Linked DNA regions of Homo sapiens: regions 1 and 2 are each linked to region 3. Evidence: promoter capture Hi-C in 16 types of primary human blood cells and fetal thymus (Javierre and others, 2016). All regions are on one chromosome and are shown on one strand. The core of a region is centred on a gene start or on the middle of the fragment in contact, and the rest is flanking DNA. Distances in the headings are between cores, read along the strand shown. Region 1 overlaps ULK2 (unc-51 like autophagy activating kinase 2). Region 2 has its middle 14 kb from the start of SLC47A2. Region 3 holds the start of MAPK7 (mitogen-activated protein kinase 7).

What was found. The method cuts DNA at HindIII sites, captures the fragments that hold promoters and counts their contacts. A CHiCAGO score of 5 or more calls a contact.
Region 1: a contact is called between a fragment that was not itself captured here and the fragment with the promoter of MAPK7 in region 3, in 1 of 17 cell types (naive B cells). The highest score is 5.7, in naive B cells.
Region 2: a fragment that was not itself captured here is called in contact with the fragment with the promoter of MAPK7 in region 3 in 2 of 17 cell types (M1 macrophages and M2 macrophages); the score reaches 5.7 in M1 macrophages.

What each region holds. Positions count from the first base shown.
Region 1 is chr17:19,799,156-19,801,855 of GRCh38, reverse strand. It overlaps ULK2 (unc-51 like autophagy activating kinase 2), which reads left to right. Exons shown (of 27, transcript NM_014683.4): 16 at 1-79; 17 at 2,281-2,361. Among named protein-coding and RNA genes, the nearest start is that of ALDH3A1, 52 kb to the right of the region's middle. The HindIII fragment of the contact is 3,751 bases long and covers 1-2,700 here.
Region 2 is chr17:19,729,710-19,732,409 of GRCh38, reverse strand. No RefSeq gene overlaps it. Among named protein-coding and RNA genes, the nearest start is that of SLC47A2, 14 kb to the right of the region's middle. The HindIII fragment of the contact is 5,355 bases long and covers 1-2,700 here.
Region 3 is chr17:19,377,248-19,380,080 of GRCh38, reverse strand. It overlaps MAPK7 (mitogen-activated protein kinase 7), which reads right to left and starts at 1,583. Exons shown (of 7, transcript NM_002749.4): 1 at 1,451-1,583; 2 at 949-1,185; 3 at 134-299. The coding sequence starts at 1,180. It also overlaps a transcript of B9D1 not described here. RefSeq lists silencers at 1,358-1,617, 1,688-1,747, 2,458-2,507 and an enhancer at 1,958-2,187. The HindIII fragment of the contact is 26,192 bases long and covers 1-2,833 here.

The DNA.
Region 1 (2,700 bases), core at 66-2,565, 420 kb before region 3:
GTACCAGCAGACACAGCACAGACAGTTGGACGAAGGCTCTCCACTGGGTCTTCTAGGCCTTACTCACCTTCCCCTTTGGGTAAGTAGAGTTTAAAAACAGTTGTTTTCAACCTTTTTTTCACTGTAATAAATCTGACATGACACATTTTCTTTAGGAACTTCGGCTCATGATGGCAGTGATTCTCAGCTGATTGGAGGCCATACCCCGTCCCTCCATCTTTACCCCAATCCCAACTCCCTCTTTTCTTTTCTTTTTCCTTTTCTTTCTCTATTTGAGACAAGGTCTCACTCTGTCGCCCAGGCTGGAGTGCAGGGGGCATGATCTCGGCTCACTGCAGCCTCTGCTTCCCAGGTTCAAAGGATCTTTTCACCTCAGTCTCCCAAGTAGCTGGAACTACAGGCGCATGCCACCACACCCAGCTAATTTTTTTTACTTTTTTATTTTTACGGAGACAAAGTTTCACTATGTTACCCAGGCTGGTCTCGAGCACCTGGGCTCAAGCATCCACTCGCCTTGGCCTTCCAAAGTGCTGGGATTATAGGTGTGAGCCACCGCGCCCGGCCCCAACTTCTTTTTGAGAATCTCTGTATAAATTTGTTAGGATCTCTACTGGAAATACAATAATATAAATGTAATTTATGTATAAAAAGCATCTCCTTTGGGATTGGGCTCTAAATGCAAAGTCAGAAACCCTAGGTTGAAGTGCATAAAATGCCTTTTCTACTTATCACTCATACTTATAAGGATTACTGTATAGCAGCTCTGGGTCACAATTACCAGAAACCTTCCAGTTCTGGTAGGCATGTGGTGGCAGCTTTGTTACAGATCTTCCCACTTCTCCTGGTACCGTAATAAGGAGAATGCCAATACAAACAAAACACCAGAAACAACAAAAACCCTACCAAAAGGAAAAACAAACCATGTACCATATCTTCAGTGAAACCAAGGGACAGAAATAAAAGCTCAAACTGCAGAAATATGTGTGAGAGAGCCAAAGCCATTGAGACTACAGCAGCTGTATGAGAGGCAGCACTGAGGTGGTGGGAAGAACAGGTGGTGCACGCAGGGCCTGGGGGTGGCAAATCTCAAAACTGTAAAAAAAATACTTCCAGGAGAGGGCCCCACCTTCAGTCAGAACTGCTGAAGTAACACTAAGATGGAACAGGAAGAAGTCTCCAGAGACAAAGAGAAGGGCTTTCCTCAGGAGCCCTGTTTAAAACAAGACAAAACACACAATGACAGTGTTAAGAAAAAGAAAGAAGTTTAAATTGCCACATTACCTGTTGCAATGGTTTCAAAGCTGTTTTTAGATGAAAAATCTTTAAATAAAATTTTGGCCCTTTCTCACCCCTGTAGCAGCCCCTGAGGTACTTCAAGGTCTCCAAAGATAAGGTCCAAATCTCATCCTTGCACACAAGGATAAAGCCCTTCCCTAAGGATCTGATCTCTGCCCGCTGCTTAATCCCTTGGAATGAGCCCTCTTGATATAGACATGTTTCTCATCTGCTTAAACTGCCTGAAGCCTTCCCTAACTCTCTCTCTCTGTGTTAGTTTTAATTCTCAGAGAAATGGATGCATAGAACATATTAGATATACAAGAGAGTGACTTGGGGAAACTTCTGTGAAGAATGAAGGGGAGGAGCAGGAGGAAGCAGGGAGGGCCCTCAGACCAAGACATAGGTCCAACACCTGGAAAAGGAGGGCAGGAAGGAGGAAGAGCTGGCCAGGAAGAGTCTCAGACTGTGGTGTAGGTCTGAGAAGGTTTCAGCCAGACTGAAGAAGTAGCCCCAAGCACTGGATTGTCTTGTTAGAGGAATTCCCTGACCCGCTTCAACAAGCCTGAATTAGTGTCCCACCATATGCAGTCATTGGCTGGGAACAGCCCTGGGGGAAGCCTAGCCTTGGCACCAGAGGGACTGCAGCTGGGGCTCTCTGTTAGCTGTGCCCTGCAGCTCCACAAGCCCGGACACTTTGTACAAACTCTTTGTGCTTACCTGTCTTATGGACATACCTGTTAGGAGCATTTATTTGTTTATGTGGTTTTTCTTCCCCTAATGTTCTTATTTCAAGGCAGATTATATGATACTTTTTATCTTAGTGTGCAGCACCCAGCGGATTGGTTGTCCAGTAAATGTTAGTTGAACTAAACGTTTGTTACTTAAAATTTTCTAACCAGTAGTTTACTGTGCAATTTGTGCATGTGTTGCCTGTTGCCATCTTTTATTGGTTTTTGATCATTTTTCTTCCTTTCCCCATCTTTTTTTTTTTTTTTTTTGTAGTTGGTACCATTCCTGAGCAATTCAGTCAGTGCTGCTGTGGGCATCCTCAGGGCCATGACTCCAGGAGTAGAAACTCCTCAGGTAGGATAATGTATTTGGTTTATTAATAATTTGAATTGTATTATAAATGGATTTGAGTTGTGTTTTTCTAGTTTTATCAAAGAACAGAATTGATATGAAATATCTCCTCTGCCATCCTGATTTTTAGAATCTTGGTCTAATGTGGTTTAATATGTCATAAAGCTAATCTACTACCTCCTTTTGGATATGAGATTCCTTAATGAAAATAAGTCTTAGAAATTAAATAACTTGGCTAAGTTTTGGTTATTTTCACATAGATAATGAAATTTATTTATGGAGTGAAATTTTATTACTTTAATACTATTGATTAATAATACTTTTTTTTTTTTTTTTTGAAAT
Region 2 (2,700 bases), core at 141-2,640, 350 kb before region 3:
GCCACAGCCATAGCATGCCATTGTTGAGTCCATTGATTGCTCCTGGTGTTTAGATTCTCAGATTAAAAAAAAAATGTATGTAATCCCAGCACTTTGGGAGGCTGAGGCGGGCAGATCATTTGAGGTCAGGAGTTTGAGACCAGCCTAACCAACATGGTGAAACCCCTTCTCTACTAAAATACAAAAATTAGCTGGGTGTGGTGGCAGGTGCCTGTAATCCAGCTACTCTGGAGGCTGAGGCAGGAGAATCGCTTGAACCTAGGAGGTAGATGTTGCAGTGAGCCAAGGTAGCATCTCTACACTCCAGCCTGGGTGACAGAGTGAGACTCTGTCTCAAAACAAACAAACAAAAAAACAAAGCAAAACAAAAGAAAATGTAGAGTCTCTCCCAAACAGGAAACTAAAAGGCAAAGTCTCAAGCCATAAAAGGCTTCCGTCTCTGTTGCATTGCTGATGCCCTCTGTCTCCTGATGTTCTAGAGCAGAAGGGAAGATTGCGCCCACCTATGGGTTCCTCCAGCAGGCAGTCGTGGCGGGGACTGCGCTCGAGGAGCTCACCTTGATGGGAGCGTCTTCGGCAGGACCTGCAGGGTTATGCGGCAGGAACAAGTTAACCTCAGAATGGCGGCGGCTACAGAGGAGGTTGGGGGAGCTCTGCTCCACAAGGTCAACCAGAGAGGAGCTGACAGAGCCTTCACCATCTCAGTGCAGGGCTAGGGGTTCACCAAAGCAGGGAAGGGAGAACTGGAGAGGCCACCCCAGATCACCTCCACTCATAGCCCACTGGCCAGGACCACAGCCCAGAGCTGAAAGGGTTCTGGGAACTGTGGAGGAGCAGTCGTTATTTGTTGAGCAGCAAATGTCCCTGCTGCATGGACAGAGAAAGACAATAAACACAGGAATAAAGTGACATGAGAACTACCCTACAAAGCCAGGCCACGCCATGCAGGTCATGAGGGGTGTGCTGGTGTTTAGAGACCATTGGTTGAGGACTTGCCTGAGGGAAAGGTAGGGCACGGGCCCCTGAGCTCCAACCCTGACCTGCAATGACTCTTGTCCCCTCTCCCCCAACTGCTGCCATCCAGGCAGTTCCCACACCATCTGCCTTGAATGTGGGGCCCCCGGCTCCAGAGCCCTCACTGCTCTGCCGGGACTCCCCTCTACTCCTTGGCCACCTCTCTGCTCATCCCACTTTGGGGTACTCAAGGCTGAGCGGGTGACATTTCCCGGATCCCAATCTGTCAGGATGATGTTGAAATAGCAGCAAACTAAGATTCAAAAAGTTTAAAAAAGGAACTTCACCAGCTCACACTCCAGAAGGCTGCAGGGAGGACTGGTGCCAGGCTTGGACTCAGCTCCGCCTCTGCTGTGGGCCAGCCCTGCCCAGGGGACAGCAGGGTGGCTCCTTCTCTGAGTCCCCTTCTTTCCCAAAATTTCTCTGGAGTCACCTTGAGTGGCTGGACTGACTGCCTGGACTGAGCAAGCGTGGCAAACACTGCTGTTGCCTGTGCAAATCTGTTCCTCCTCCCTCATTGTTAACAGAATTCAATTTTGAAAATTTCTTTAAAAATGATGATGCTTAGGATCCTGAGATTTTCATCCTATGTTCTAGGCTAGAGCCAGGGCATCACTATATCTGGGTTATATGTTATTTGTTTGTTTTTTGTTTTTTGTTTTAGACAGAGTCTCACTCTGTCACCCAGGCTGGAGTGCAGTGGCACAATCTTGGCTCACTGCAAACTTCACCTCCCGGGTTCAAGTGATTCTCCTGCCTCAGCCTCCCGAGTAGCTGGAATTACAGGTGTGTACCACCACGCCCAGCTAATTTTTGTATTTTTAGTAGAGATGGGGTTTCACCATGTTGGTCAGGCTGGTCTCGAACTCTTGGCCTCAAGTGATCCACTCACCTTGGCCTCCCAAAGTGCTGGGATTACAGGCGTGCACCACCACGCCCAGCTAATTTTTAGTAGAGTATTTTTAGTAGAGATGGTGTTTCACCATGTTGGCCAGGCTGGTCTCAAACTCCCGACATCAAGTGATCTGCCCGCCTCAGCCTCTCAGAGTGCTGTGATTACAGGCACCTGCCCGGCCCCTCAGGCCTTTTTTGTAAGGGCACTAATCACCTCCCAAAGGCCCCAAACTCCTAATACCATCACACTGGGGACAAGGATTTCAACACCTGAATGCTTAGGGGGACACAAACATTCAGATCATAGCACCAATAAAAACAGATGCACAAGAAAGGGCGACCCCTCTCCCGCCAGAGAGTGGCATGTCTGGTTGTGAACTTGGAATGCACAGCCATCTTGTGGCCATGAGGACAGCCCTGAGGCGAGGCCGGCGGGCTGAGACCGGCTTAGTAGGGAGATGATGCCCCTGGGCTGCTCTGGGATGTGAATGAGCTGCTGGAGCTGCCTTCCCTTTAACAAATTTTCTTTTCCTCAAGCCATTTTGCCATTTTGAAGCATTTCCCATTACTTACATCTGAGAGCCTCTTATCTCTCCTCCTCTTACCGCTTGGTGTACTCCTTGTTCCAGTGTCTCCTGAACAGGGCGGGCTTGTTCTCCTGAGACTTCTGCTTAGACCTCCCAGCACCTCCTCCCTCCAAGTCTCTTCCTCCCCAGGACTGCAGGGCGTCAGCAGGGCCTCCAGACTGTAGACACCCGCGCAACGCCAGTCTTTGTGCAGATCCCTGCGCAC
Region 3 (2,833 bases), core at 334-2,833:
TGGTCCTAGAACTGCGGGAATTTTCCCAGCCTGCTTCAGATTAGATTCAGCTGCCTTTCCAGAACTTCGGCAACATGGTTGCAGCCTTCAGAAAAGTCCCAAGTCTGGCTCCCTCTCCCATCCCGCTTCTTACACAGATTTGAATTCGCCATAGGGCACGGTGGGCCTCAGGATGTCCTTGATGGCGATGATGTTGTCGTGTTTAAAGTGCTTGAGGATCTTCAGCTCCCTGAGGGTCCGCTTGGCATTGGTCACCACATCGAAAGCATTAGGGATCTTCTTGATGGCCACCTGCTGGCCTGAGGAGCAGGGAAAAGGGACATACCAGAGGATACCTTGGAGAAACTGCAGAGTCGACTCAGCCCCTATCAACACCTCCCTTCTAGGATGCAAATGACAACAGCTACCAAGTATTGGGTACCTACTATGTGCCAAGCCCTGTGCTAAGCATGTTACCTACATTATTAAATGTTACCTTCACAACTCCCCTGCGGGGCAGGTCCCAATAGGTCAACGTTAAAGAGAAGGAAATATGGCTTAGTAACTTGTTGGAGGTTGCACGGATGCCCAGTGGTGTAGCTCAGCCTCTTATGCCTACACCCTCTCCATCTCAGACCTCACCCATCCCACCACCAGTTCCTTATGCCAGTGTCTGGCTCCAGAACACATTTCTCTCTTAGACACGAAGGACTGGCTCTCCATTCTGGTCTAACTGGGACTATCATTTTCCTAAGGAGGAAGTAGGCAGGCAGGATGGCAAAACCACCAGGCCGGAGTTTCAGAGAACCGAGCCTCCCCGGAGCCTGGCAGGCAGAAGGCCCTGGTCAGTGTGTGTTGACTGGAGCCAGAACTCGCACCCCGCTTTCCTTCCCGGCTGTCTGGGACAGGCCGGTTTCCCACTCCCTGCGACGCTGCCACATCTGGGAGGCGACGGCTCAGGAAGCTCACCGGTGAGGCGGCGGCGGGCGGAGGACACCACTCCATAGGCCCCGTTGCCTATGGTCTCGATGATCTCGTACTCGTCGCCCACGTCAAAGGTCACATCGAAGGAGCGGGCTTTAAGCAGGGCCAGGTTCTTGGCCGCTACAGAGGCAGCGGTGTGGGCGGGTTCGGCCTTCACGGGCCCGGGGGGCTCCGCAGAGCCGTCCTCGCCGTCTTCCTCCTTCAGAGGCTCGGCCATGGTGTCTGTGTGGAGACTCGGGTGAGGAGAGGACCACCTACCGTGGGCCTCAGTGTCCCCTCTGCGGGCTGGGGAGCAGGACCAGGGAACTTCCCAGTTTCCTAAACCGACAAGGGCAGAAGCGCGCGGCTGGTTCGTGGCAGACTAGCTACCCCAGGGGTCCGGGCCCAGAGCCGGGGGCCCGCCAGGGTCGGGGGAGGGGTAGGCGAGGCGCGGGCCAGGAAGAAAGGGAGGGGCGGGGCACCTGGGTTTCCTCAGGGCCGCACTCACCCCCGCGCCTCCTCAAGGCTTTCAGAGGTCCCGAGGCTCGCCGGCCTCCCGTCCCCAGCGCGGGGGTCTCCGAGGGTGGCTCACTTACTTGTTCAAAGGCCGCAGCCACCACCTCAGCGTCTTGAGCTGCCCTGTCCGTCCCCCTCCGCCCCGCCTCCCAAGGCCACGCTCCCTCCAGCTCCTGGCCAATCGCTGAGCTACTGCTGCGGAGGGTCCTGCCCCTTCTACCTACTGCGTCCAATCCTAGCCCACCGGCCGAGAAAGCCACGCCTGGCGCGCGCCGCTGTCCAGCTCGCCGGCGGGAGCCGCCCAAAGGGTGCCCGGCACTTCGCAGGGGTGTGCTCCCCGCCCTGCACCGCCTTCAAACGCATGCGCACTGGCAGTCGGGCGCCAAGTGAATGGAAGGCAACGCCCCTGCACGTAGCGCGCGCGTCCCCATGAAGCTCTCAACCTCATCCGGCCAATCACAGCTAGTCCCGTGAGCTCGGGGAACTGCCCGGCCTGAGATGCCCAGGTCTGGGACTGTTACCTTGGCTACTGGCTCCCGAAGTCCCCTTCCGCCCAGGGAATTGTGTCCGCCATTTGCTTGGTCCCAGGAGCTCTGGGAATGTGTCATCCCCGGTAGAGGGTGCCCGTCACGGCCAACCACAGAGATCCCGGTCCTCCGGGATTCTAGAGCGTCCGGCCGAACCCTCCACTGACTTCCGGTGGCTGAGCCTCTCCGCAGCTTCCGGCCAAGTTGGACTGCAGCTCGCGGTTTCCTGGCTTCTAGGTATCTTCCCTCCGCTCGTTTGTCTGTCCCGCGATTCCCGTGCTTTGGGCTGCAGCGGAGTTAACCGAGGCGGCCGCCCAACCTCTGCTCCTCTGCGGAGCCCGCGGGTGGGCGGAGCCCTCGCTGGAACCGAGCTGTCCCGACCCACCCCAAAATCCGATAGTTTATTCGTTCATTCATGTAGCAAATGTTTATGGAGCACCGCCCCTCTAAGGCTCAGTGCCGGGAGGCGAAGGTGGACATGGTGGATACTGTGAGCTGGAAGGAAAGGTTTTCTAAAGGGAGCTCGAGGTAGGGCCGAAAAGAAGTGAAGAATTTTGGTTTCACTCCTAGGCGGCTTCTAGAAAAAAGCAATATGTATGCATATTCGTACCTACCTCCCCTTTGGTGTACAAAAATGTAGCATATTATGCTCTTTTCCTGAAGATCATTCCATATCAATAACTGGAGGGGTCCCTCACTTTTAAACAACTTTTAATAACATACCATAAAACTCATCCTTTTATAGTGTACAATTCAGTGTTTTTTGGTATATTCACAGTTGAGCAGCCATCATCACTACCTAATTTTAGGTAGAGTGGTTTATGGAACATTTTCATCGCCCCTAAAAG